Linked DNA regions of Homo sapiens: region 2 is linked to region 1. The links are contacts of gene promoters, found by promoter capture Hi-C in blood cells and fetal thymus (Javierre and others, 2016). All regions are on one chromosome and are shown on one strand. Each heading gives the region's core, a stretch centred on a gene start or on the middle of the fragment in contact. The rest is flanking DNA. Distances are from core to core; before and after follow the strand shown.

Region 1 (5,899 bases), core at 1,589-4,088:
TCCTTTGAAGGTAAGTCTCATTACTTGAAGAAACTAAGGCTGAGATGGATATAAATGTGACTCCACTCTCTCATCCTACCCAAACCAATCCGAAATGACGCCAAAGCAGGTGAGCTTTCTTCTTTATACTATTATACCCACCTCCCTCACCATCACCAATGATGGGCAATGTTATAAGCATCTAGCCTTCCTTAATGGACTTTGCCTCAGAAAACCCAATTTTCTAGTATGGCAAACAGCGATTTCAACATGGCTTTGCTTCCCTGAACCCACACTCCAGGACTGAGACATCGATTGAACCAATGTTTCAGCTCAGTCTGCTGAAAAATAAATACATGAAGTGCAAATATTGACGATTCTCATGCAACTCCTAAAGACATGAAAAAGGACTCCCTGGAACAGTGCAAACCGGCAAAAGGGAAACAATGGGAGGAGGAGGAGACAAGAGAAGAGGCGGCCCGGGAAGAACCAGGAAAGGGGGTAACTTGAATGACAGGTCTTAACTGAGACTCCACACGCCACCGCCTGGACGCAAGAACTAAGTACAGGCGCCGCCGCCACCCGGCTGGGTGCAAGGGGCACCGGGACGCCCGCGACCACTCGCATGGCGCGGCCGGACACGCACCTGTGATACTGCGCCTGCAGGAACTGGAATTCCTCTTTAATCCGGTCCAGGGACTCCGGGATAGTGAACTTGAAGGGCTGGCCTGCAGCCTGGTGCGGCGTCTGGGGGCGACCAGCGAGGGGGACCGAGGGACGGGAATGCGGGCGGATGAATAAAGCAGTAAGTCAGAGAAGGCAAGAACGGGTGGGACATAAACATAAAGTTAGAAGTGGCTGAAAACGAGGCCCCAAACTCGAGTTTGCCCTTCACTATGGGGAGGGGGAAAGCGGACCCTCCCCGGGCCCCGGCTTCTAAAGAGGCTCGGAAGCTCTTCCCAGTCTCCAGGGCGGATTGCGCTAAGTGCGCCCGGGTCACCAGGCCAAAGGGAAGGGGGCTCCCCGGCGGCCAGGGAAGACCAGGCCAGATTGTCGGTGTCGCCGCCCCTTCCCCCACGGCGGCGATAATGACCCCGGGGACCAGAGGAGAAAAACAACTCCTTTACGCTCCCCATTCCCAGAGTCGCCGGGGCCACCTCCAGACGCACCGGAACCGGGGCCGCATTGACATGTAAATAGGCGAGAGGAGAAACAAAGGGGGGGGCGCCCTGCCCCCACTCGGGGAAGGTAGAGGGGATATGGCTGCAGGAGAGAAACCCCAGCCTTCCCCAGCGCCCCTGTCCGCTCGGTATAGACGTCAAGTAGGAAGGAGCCCAAAGGGAGGGAGAAAATTAAGAGTTTCGGCCCACTCCCCACCCCAGGAAGAGAGGGCCCCAGACCTCCCCAGCCTTACACCGCTGAGGGCGAGAAGGTCCGCCGGGCCTCAGAAGCCACCAGTCTCCCTACCGCCCGGGAGAAGCGCCTCCCCAACGATCCTGGCCCCCCACCACCACCCAGCCGCGCCTCACCGGGTGCCGGCTCTGCGGGAACATCGCTCTGGCGGCGGCCGGGGCTCTGTTCCCCGGCAACTCAATTCTCCGGTCAATTTCCAACTTTAATCCCGCCGAGGAAAATTAAGCCGGAAAGCCAAGCAGAAGCGGGGAGCGCGCTGGCCACGCACGCGCGCTCCGCCGGGCGCACCGGCCACTCGGCGCCCGCAGCTGCTCCGGCTCCCGCTCCCGTCGGTGCGGGCTCCGGCCCTCAGGGCCACATTAGTGGGCGCCCCAGGCCCAGCTGCTTCAAGAACCTGCGCGGAGACGTCGGGCGCTCGGGGACTGTGCGCGGGGGCAGCGCTCCAACCCCCGGCCTCAGCTGCCCGGGCGGGGAGGCGGGGGCGCGGTGACTCCGACCGCACTCCCCTCGGCGATCCGCGTGCGCGGCGCCAGTCCTGGGCAAACAAATCCAGACGGACTGCTTTTCTTTGCTCTTCTCCTGGTCCGCCTCCTCTTCGGGCTTTCCCCGAGGCGGCGGCGGGCGAGGTGCAGGTGGCGCGGCGGCCCCCGCTAACCCCACACAAACCCGACGCTTTCGGGGCGACTCCCGCAAGATTCGGCTGCGCCTTCGGCCGGGTGCTCGCAGGCTCCCGGGACGCAAAGGGGAGCGAGGTTGAAGACGCAGCGGAGGCTCCTGGCCGGGGAGCGACGGATGACGAGGCGGGGAAAGTGCGGAGGGCGCGCCGGGAGGCGGCTCGGCACGCCCCGTGCGACCAGCACTCGGTGTTCTCCGCGGTTGCACAAACCCTCCGGGCCCGACGGGGCTACTCCACCGAGAGCAGTCCCGCAAGTGCCCAATGCTCCTCGAGCCCGGGGAGCATCAGGGCGCCGCGCCTCGGGCGCACTCGCCCTGCACGGCCGGACCGGCCGCTCCGGACCCTTCTTCCGAGCTCCTTCTTCCTCGGTCTTCTTTCTTTCCTTCCTTCACCTTCGTGTGCTTCTCCGCAAAGGGCGCTCCAGCCCACTGCAAAGTTCTCTCACCACCCGAGGGACGACATCCACGAGATGGTGGGGAAAACAGCAGGAGTGCGCTCCGCCAATCGGCCACCCTCCCCGGCGGGCAAACTCTGCGGGCGAGTCCAGAGTAGTCACAGCGGTGGGGCCAGCGGGGGTTTTGGTCGCCGCGGGACGACGGAGGTCCGGGCTGGTGGCGCGGGTCCCGCCCGGCCGTGCGAGGGTGGGGTGGCGCAGTCGGCTGCCTCCGGGACGCGGGGCACAGAGTACCCGCCGCTGTTTCTGCTGCTGCTGCTTCTGCAGCCGCCGCTCCCACCGCCGCCGCCGCCCGCGCCTCTCGCGCCGCTTACATTAACACGCGGTTTCACACTCCGGAGCTAACCAGCGCCGGCCCCGCCCAGCCCCGTTCGGGCGGGGGGCGCGAGCGCGGAGCCGGCGGGGGACGTGAGCCCGGGAGGTTGGGGGGTGGGGGGGGGGCAGAAGGCCCGCATCAGCCAATCGCGTGCGCTGCAACCAACGTGGGGCGCTGACGCGCTCCTCCCCGGAGCGTATGGCAGCGCAGCGCCGGACGGGGCGTTCTCCCTCCCCCCCTCCTCTCGCTTCCATCTCCGCCGTCTCCTCGGTCTCCCTTCCCATCCCGGCCCCTCCTCCGCCAGCCGCGTCCTCCCGGGCTTGGTGAGGAACTGTTCCTGGAGGAGCCGCGGGACGCCAAAACCAGCCAATGGGAAGCGGCGATTCGCGGAGATTGGCACTGATGATGGGAAGGTCGGTGGGAAGGAGAGCGGCGGGGCTGGGCTGTCAATCAAAGTAACGTGGGGCTGGCTAGAGAGCGCGCGGGCGCGCGCTAGCGGGAGGGACTGGCGAGCGTGCAGCCGGGGAAGCTGAGGGCTCGAGTTAGCAAAAATCCTGCCACTTGCTCACTTTTCCCTTTAATGAAAATCCTCAGATCTAAGTGAAAGTAACTCAAAGACTAGCTGCGGAGTTTCTTATTGGAGGCGGAGGGGGGCTTTTGGTAATTCGAGCAAATGTGTTTTTCAGTGCTGGACCCCTTGTTTGATGCTACTCTAAAAGTGAGGCCACATTCAAAAATTTATCTGAGGTTTGTTTTTCCTTGAGCTGCCTTTTTACGGATGTACGAGAGGGAGTGGACTGTGCACTTAGTTGGAAATGCGTAAATGAGCAACGCCACGGTTGGCGTAGGTACACCAGCAAAGACGACTGTGATGTCCTCCCACCCCACCCACCCCCTTTGCACCCAAAGTGGTAGGATTTGATTTTTATTGCAGGATTTCAAGCCACTTTTCAAAAAGATCGTCCTGTCCCGTTTGGCGGGAAGGATTCCCAGGGTGCTGCCAGAACAAGGCACGCGTGTCCGCAGATGAGACGTTTTGCCCGGGGCGCGAAATCCCAGGTCTTCGTCTTAAAAGTCCTGACTTCGCTGTGTTGGGAGAGGTGGGGAGCGGCTGAGGTTTTTAGGAACTTCTCAGCTACAAGACTACGAGTCTGTTTCCAATTCCTGGGAACAAAGAGAGACAATGTAATAAACCAGCACTGAGACCTGAAAAACCTGTCCCGCACACCCCACCCCCACAGTCTGGGTGGTACTCCTGAGCTGAGCTGTGTGAAGAGCTAAATGGGAAGAGTTAGGTAAATGACGTGGCTAAGGTTCTTATGAAGTGGAACTTGAGTTAAAAGGGATTTTGAGATTGTAATAATCAAGACATGCTGTATAATTAATGCTGAGAGTCTTTGGTTTTTGTGTATGTCTCTAAATACACAGCAGAAAACCGTCAGTATTGCCGCATTTATGCTTTTGTTTGAGGAACATTTCCACATGAGCAGTGAATGAATAATGCTGGTTTAGCCAAACGGTGGTAACTTCTTCCATAAGGGCACATCTTGGACAAGTATTTATCTTATGTTGGAAACTAGTTAAGTTTTTGGTATTAATAACCCCCACGTTATTATTTTATTATTTTACCTTCAAGAGACTTACGGGAAGGAGCTTATTTAAACAGACATACATTTTATTTAAAGATGTGCTTTTACAGAGTTCTTTTTCTTGAAATAGTTTTAGAAGTCATTTTAGATAATACATTTCACTGTTGGAGTTGTTTTTAAATATGTATGATATTGATTTGTCTATAATTGCATCACTCCCAAATATCAATTATAAATGAAAAAATAAAAAAGCGATTTTAACCAGTCTGTACGAAGCCATAGTAAATTCTTAAACAAGTTGGGCATTGTAGCTTTGTGGTGTTCTCATTAAGTACAGTTGGGAAGGCGGCTGTATTATTCATTTTGCTAACATGGAGAACAAAAAAGAAGAAAGCACTGCCTCACTTTCCTTGGTTAAATTTGGTGACGATGACAGTTTTGCTCGACATACAGGACTTTTTGGAATCATAGGATCCCAGGGCCTTTAGCAACCTGTTTTCCTTGAAATTATCTAGTGATTGAGCCACATATACCAGTCTGCGGCCAGTTCATCCCATAATCAGCTCCAGGACCGGACAGAAAGTGCTTGGATGCCACAAGTATGCTTGTATACATGCTGTGACAACTGGAGCAACTGATATTCCTCCCCGGCTTACCCAGGCTTTATGTGGTGCCTGTATCTTGAATAACTGGCACACTCCCATTAAGTTTAAACAGAGCCATTAAAATATGCTTTGAGATGGGGCAAAAGTGTTGCTACTTCTCTTCTTTCCCCACCCCGCTGCCCTCAAAATCAGTACTAAGGCATCTTTAAATGTTCTCTAACATAACTACTCACAGACAATGTGTCTGCTCACCATATTTCCCAGTTTGCCATGAGTAAACACTAGAAATTCTCTTTTAACTAGTCTTTCCTTGCCAATAGAGTTTGAAACACCAGGCCTTCTGATTTCCTTATAATGAAGTATCTGTAGTATCTACAGAGCATTATGAATTTAAAATTGGAAGGCCTTTAATTGTGTGCATAAAAATGGTTGGTTTTGGTTTTTGAAGCCTTTTTTTCCCATTTAGAGCATCGTCTGTCAGAGTGGGAGAAGGCTCTGCCCTTTTCAAGGTCATATTTTCTCCACGATTGTCATGCTGTAATAATTATACTACAAAACTCTCATCAAACTGCATTACAAATGACGGCGTTTAAACAGTCAAGTAGCTTTAATCTTATGTTTTAAATAAATAATATATGTGCAGATTGCCTACAGCCTGTTTAAAAGAAAATAGTCCTCCTCATGAAATCTATAATTTTGGTCTTCCATTTAAAGCCTGTTAACCATAATCTTCTTTACCTTTAACATTCATATGTCAATGATGTTTTTATGTGAAATGTATGATGCTCCCACTGGAAATTTTCTCTGAAAAACACAGTACCCTTTTTATGCTCTGCAGAGAAACAGAAAGATTGTCAGCTTGTTCAT
Region 2 (5,899 bases), core at 2,252-4,751, 1.3 Mb after region 1:
GTTTGTTTGTTTTGTTATAGAGAAAGGTCTTGCTTTGTCAGCCAGGCTGGAGTGCATTGGCATGATTATAGCTCATTGCAGCCTCAAACTCCTGTTTGGCTCAAGTGATCCTCCCACCTCAGCCTCCTAAATTGCTAGGATTACAGATGGATGCCACTATGCCTGGCTATTTTTTTTTTAATGTTTTGTTGAGATGAAGTCTCACTATATTGCCTAGGCTGGTCTCCAACTCCTGGCCTCAAGAAATCCTCCCACCTTGGAGTCTCAAAATGCTGATATTACAAGTGTGACCACCAAGCCCAGCCTCAAGTCTGTACTCTGAAATACTAAATTTAACACTGTCTCCTTGAAAAATATTTTCTATAGGACAAGTCAAGAGACTGTAATGCTTTTTTCTGTGCAGTCGTTCAAGATGGTGTCTCAGAAAGGTGATTTTGTGAAGGTCATTGCTTGTATCTGCTGCCACTCTAAAGACTTTCTTTACTTCTTGGATTCCAGTTCAGGTCAGATCATCTAGCTGGTAACAAGGGCCATAAACCCTTATCATTGTTCTTAGACCCAATGTTTGTTTCTCCTGGATCCTTCTCTGCTTGGACCTGAACTAACCTATTTTTCAGTCAACCCATAAGGAATTTCCTTTTTCCACCCAGCATTCCTGTATACTTCCTCCTCCTAGTCTTGGGCAAAGGTGACTTTTCTGAGGTCAATTAGGGTACCAGGTCTGAGGTAGGTGTTCGATAAATATTTGAATAGAATCAATGGAGGCGTTTCCAAAGCTTAATCAGGCCAGAGGCATTTTTCAATATTGATGGGGTCCCTGGCAGTACTTCTAACCTCATCCTGGGTCCCAGGTGGTTGAAGACAGAAAGTGGTCAATTGGCCAAAGGCATTCATTGTTCCTCCCAAGGTGCCCTCTGAGAGAATTGAAACCCTGAAAATACTCAATAATAAGAATTACTGATTCAAAAAAAAATCAGCCAAGGGAAATAAGGCTCATCTGCAAATGTCATTAAACTGAATGCCTCTTTGTTGTACCTTGTAGATCCTTCTAGCTAGTGAGGGTGAAAGGGAGGTCCTATCAATCCTCACAGCTGCCACTGTTCATACAACATATTGAGTTGGCAATAGCTTTAATTATTGTCTCATGCTATCAGGATATATTAAAATCTAAATTATCCATTGGGTTGGAGAAAAGGAAAATGGAGGAATATGAAATTTGGAGGTATACTCTTAATACTAATCCCTTGGGACTGTAGCTTGTGTTCCTCTCATTCAGAAGTATTGACTGAATGACTGAAAAAAGAACCAACAGATCAACCAATGAGGAAACAAGTAAATGAAGAAACCAAGATGTCCCCGACCAATCAAAGGTAAAATGTTGCCATAGGCAGCTCTGCTTGTACCTCTATGCAATGGACAAACAAGGAGACCATTTTCTCCTTGTACATAGGCAGTGTCTGGAGCCAGGATGTATATGCTAACTAGTGACCTAGCTGGCCTGATCAGGAGTGGGCAGCTCCAGCAAGCCTAACTCCACAGAGCCAGAGAGCATTCATAACCTCGTGTCCAGGAGAGAGTGCCAGCCGATAGAAGCCAGAAGTGTGCTTCTGCAATGAATCATCAGGATAAAGGAGGTTGGTGGTAGGTATTGGAAATCAAGAGAAAGAGCCAAGGTGAAGATCCAAGAGGTTAGAGAGCCACAGAAGGTTAGCCAAGCAGATTAGAGTAGGTGGGCAGGAGGACAGCCTGTGCCAGCACCGGAGACCACAAGTATTTTGCATGGCTGGGCTTTCTTTTGGCTTTGTGTTTATTTTTTTAAATGGGTAATACATATACATGGAGCCAATCTCAGAAGGTTCCAAAAGGGATACCAAGCAGTAGTCGCATTCTCACTCTTGTCTTCCAATTCCCCAGTTCTCCTCTCCTGAATTTCTTCTGTATCCTTCCATAGATAGCCCATGCATAAGTAAGCATATGTGTATCCACAACCTTTATACCACAAACCATATCATAGTATACATATCAGTCTGTAGCTTTCTTTTTCACTTGACAATACATCTTAGACATGGTTCCAGAGCAGTATATGTAAAGCTGGTTCATTCTTCCCTGAGGCCTTATAATACTCCATTGTATAGGTGTACCATAATATATTTAACTAATTTTTAAATGAATATGTAGGTTGTGTTCCAATAACGCTGCAATGATAAGGCATTTTGGATATGTGTAGACATATCTGTGAAAGTGAAGCTGCTGGGTTACAGAATATGTGCACCTTAAATTGTGATAGATATTGCCAAGTCACCCCCTGAATGGGTGATATCAGTTAATACTCCAAACTATGCATGTGCCTGTTTCTCCCAAATACTTCCCAACAAAATTTACTATCAAACTTTTTGCAATTGCCAAGTTAATCAGTAGGAAAAGTGATATATCATTATGGTTTTAATATGCATTTTTCTTATAATGTATGATATTGACAAACTTCTTATGATAAAAATTGACACAGATGTAAATTTATTAGGACCCATTTGAGAGGCCTCCAATCAAAGGGGCCAATCAATATTCTGGGAACCAACCAAGAGACCTGGGTTTGAAGTTTGAGATACGGTCTCACTGATGAAGCACCTACAATGTGCAGATATATTTGCTCCTCAGGTAGAATTTTGCTGTTCCACAATGCTGTTATTTATCAGAAACAACCCTGATTAAATGATTTTTCTAAAGCTACCTTTCTGATAAGGGGAAGAGCTATATCCATGTCCCAGTCAACTGGACTCCACACCCTGTGCTTTTTCCGAGTCCTAGTTTTACTAACTGCTACCTTGGAACCAAAAGCCCAGTAGATCTGGGATCAGAAAACCTGGGTATGTACATCAGTCTGCTACTCACAGGCCATGTGACCTTGAGTAAATAACTTAACCTCTTTGGTGGGGTCTCAGTTTTCTCAACTAATTTATCAAAAAAACTGTAGTTGTTACCTCAAAGTCCTTTCAGGTCTCAGACTTTTAAGACTTTGTAATATGGCAAAAATTCTGATGTCTAATGGGTAAAAGAAAAGCAAGCGTCCTGGATTATCCAAATGCATCATCTCCCCATCTCCTAAAAATTGAGAGCTGATATATTTAAACACCTCATTTAGAAAATGACTGCCACCTTAAGCTCCTTCCTAGACACCACCAGCACTGTGAAGGAGGCACTTTTCTGCTTTTGTTCATCTCTTTAGAACTGTTCCTCAATCACTCTTTTTTCTTTTCTCTTTTTTTGCTTTTTCCCATTACCCATGTACAGAGTCACCTTAGGCTAAGGAAACACAACTGAAGAGAAACTAATTTTCTTCTAGACTACGGTTCATCTGAGTGTCGTTTCTTTGTTTTTAACATTTTGAAGCGGTCTGCAGCCTCCTCTCCAAAGTAAGGACAGGCTGGTGAGAGGAAGCGGAGACAGAGCTTCCCAATGGCCCAAGGATCCCAGGTGAGCAAATCCCTTTAGAGAATAAAGTTGTCATGCTCTTTAATGGTGAGATTCTTTAAGAAGAAAAAACAAATCTCTGCAAATTGTTGCTCACATTTGTATCACTCCTTGACCTAAGTAGCACATACTTCACTTCATTTGGTGTTCATTTAGTGTTCTATGCAGAGAATGGGGAAAACAGCCTGGCAAATAACTAGAAAGAACATCCACTCTGATCATCGGCCAGGTGTCAAGCAATGTGCAAAGCACTTAACTTTCTTTACTTTTTAATCTAAATAGTCTTTAATATAGATAAGATAGATATGGAAACTAAAACTCAAGATATGTTTGTAAGTTGCCCAGGGTCACAGAATTAGGAAGTGGCAGAAGTGGAATTCAAGGCCAGGTCTGTTAGATTCCTAAGCCCATCTGTATACAATATTGGGTACAATGACCTCTGTTCCAACTCAGCAATTCCTAGGTCTTAAAAGTCATCTAGACATGAATTCTCAAGGGGGGGTGATATTGTCCCCAAGAGGGGAGAATTGTTTCTCGGGGGGGAGGGTGAGAGGAACCTTACTTTTTAAATGTATAAAACACAGCTATGTGCACAGTTCATAAACATATATGTAATATATCTGTGGCATTAACATTTCCTGGGCAGAGGACAATTAGGAAAATATGCCTAAAAAGACTTTTTTGTGGGAAAAAGTTTTAAAACTTGAGAAACACTGATCTAGACATATCCCTGATGCAGCTCTTGGGTGCCTCATGCTGTGTCATGTTGCCTCCTGTTTGTCTACTTGTCTCTTTCCATCAGACATATAAACCTCTTCAGAATTGAGGACTGCTAAATTTGACATTACCAATCGGTGGGCAGCTACTTTTAAAATTGCAGCCACTCCTAGTTATTTTACAAAGAAGAGGTTGGAAAGCATTCAGATTGGGCTCTATCAAGGTGTGAGCCCACCTCCAAGTGTCCACTAGGCTGAAGCGGGCTGGCCACCACCATCTGATTGGGTTCCAACCATCTCCTCATCCTGCTCTTGCTGCTCCTTGCTCTTCCGCTCTCCCCAGACTTCCACTCTCCTTACTCCATCTTCTTTTTCATCTCCTCTAAAGTTCATAAAGGAAATGGTCTGACCTTGAATTTAGAGGATGAGATCCACCTGAGTACGTTCACTGGCACAAAAGGTGAGGCCACTGTGGTTCCCCACCTCCCTTCACCAGCTCAGCTCTCCTGTGTAAAATAAGATCTGGGGAAATGACTACACCTTAATTCAGCCCAACCTGAATATGTAAAGTACACGAAAGAAGCCGGGAAGTGTGGATGCTGAAGAAATAGCGTATGATCCAGGGCTCTAAGGAGCTTATGCTCTCTGCACCCCGTTTTTCCCTAAACGTACGTTCAGACAGAACTTTCTTACCTTTTCCTGATTTCTTCAGTTTTCTTCATCTCGGTTAAGGATCCCAAAGCAACTCAGAACAGAACCCTAAATATTTTCGTAATTCCTTAAATAATTAAAAAAGTGGCCTTCAGTTCTCCGATGCCAATCTCAATTTCTACCTACTGGAAACTGTAAAGATTTTTAACATTTCCTTTCCTTGCAGTTTTTCCTGCAATCAGTTTCCTCATTGAAAGTGTAACAGGTGTATATAGCCATGGAGGCCACCTGCCCTTGACTGCTGTTCTGAAAGTGGAGACACCTGTGGGTAAAGTGGAGCGATCACAAAAGCTCTTAATGTTACTGCTAGACTGTGAGATCCTAGAGGGCAGCAGCTGTGTCTTGTTCATCTGTTTGGTCCTCTCCTCCCTACTACACACACACACACACACACACACACACACACACACACACACACACACACACACACACACACACTTGAAGCAACAGAAATTGATCCTCTCCCAGTTCTGTAAATCAGAAGTTTAAAATCAAGGTGTTGGCAGGGCCAGGCTTCCCTGAAGGCTCCAGGGGAGAATCCGTTCGATCCCTTTCTCTTGGCTGTTGGTGTTACTGGCAGCCCTTGGCATTCCTTGTCTTGAAGACACATCACTCCAGTCTGTCACATGGTGTCCTCCCTGTGTGTGCCTCTACATGTTTTTCCCTCTTTATGTATGGACACCAGTCACATAGTGTTAGGGCCCACCCTAGTCAAATATGACCTCATTGTATTTTGAGGACATCTTCAAAACCCTTGCTTCCAAATTAGGTCGTATTCACTGCTACTGGAATTTAGGTTTTGGCATATATTTTAGGAAATATAATTCAATTTGCAACAGTGCCTTAATGAAAAAATGAGTAAATAAGTACATACTTCACAGAAGAAAGGAGAAAAACAGGGAAGGAGGGAGGGAAGGAGGGAAAGAAGGAAGAAAGGAAGGAAGAAGGGAGGGAGGGAGGGAAGGAAGGAAGGCAATTTTTCATAATATTTAAAATATTCTATA

The links. Contacts are between HindIII fragments. The CHiCAGO score rates a contact against its expected background, and 5 or more counts as called.
Region 2: a contact is called between a fragment that was not itself captured here and the fragment with the promoter of TLE1 in region 1, in 1 of 17 cell types (fetal thymus). The highest score is 5.3, in fetal thymus.

The regions. Positions count from the first base shown.
Region 1 is chr9:81,686,709-81,692,607 of GRCh38, forward strand. It overlaps TLE1 (TLE family member 1, transcriptional corepressor), which reads right to left and starts at 2,839. Exons shown (of 20, transcript NM_005077.5): 1 at 1,509-2,839; 2 at 626-726. The coding sequence starts at 1,532. It overlaps TLE1-DT (TLE1 divergent transcript), which reads left to right and starts at 3,005. Exons shown (of 4, transcript NR_109772.1): 1 at 3,005-3,251. RefSeq lists an enhancer at 2,150-2,864 and silencers at 2,737-3,086, 3,237-3,386. The HindIII fragment of the contact is 8,493 bases long and covers 1-5,899 here.
Region 2 is chr9:82,963,038-82,968,936 of GRCh38, forward strand. No RefSeq gene overlaps it. Among named protein-coding and RNA genes, the nearest start is that of RASEF, 97 kb to the right of the region's middle. The HindIII fragment of the contact is 5,454 bases long and covers 775-5,899 here.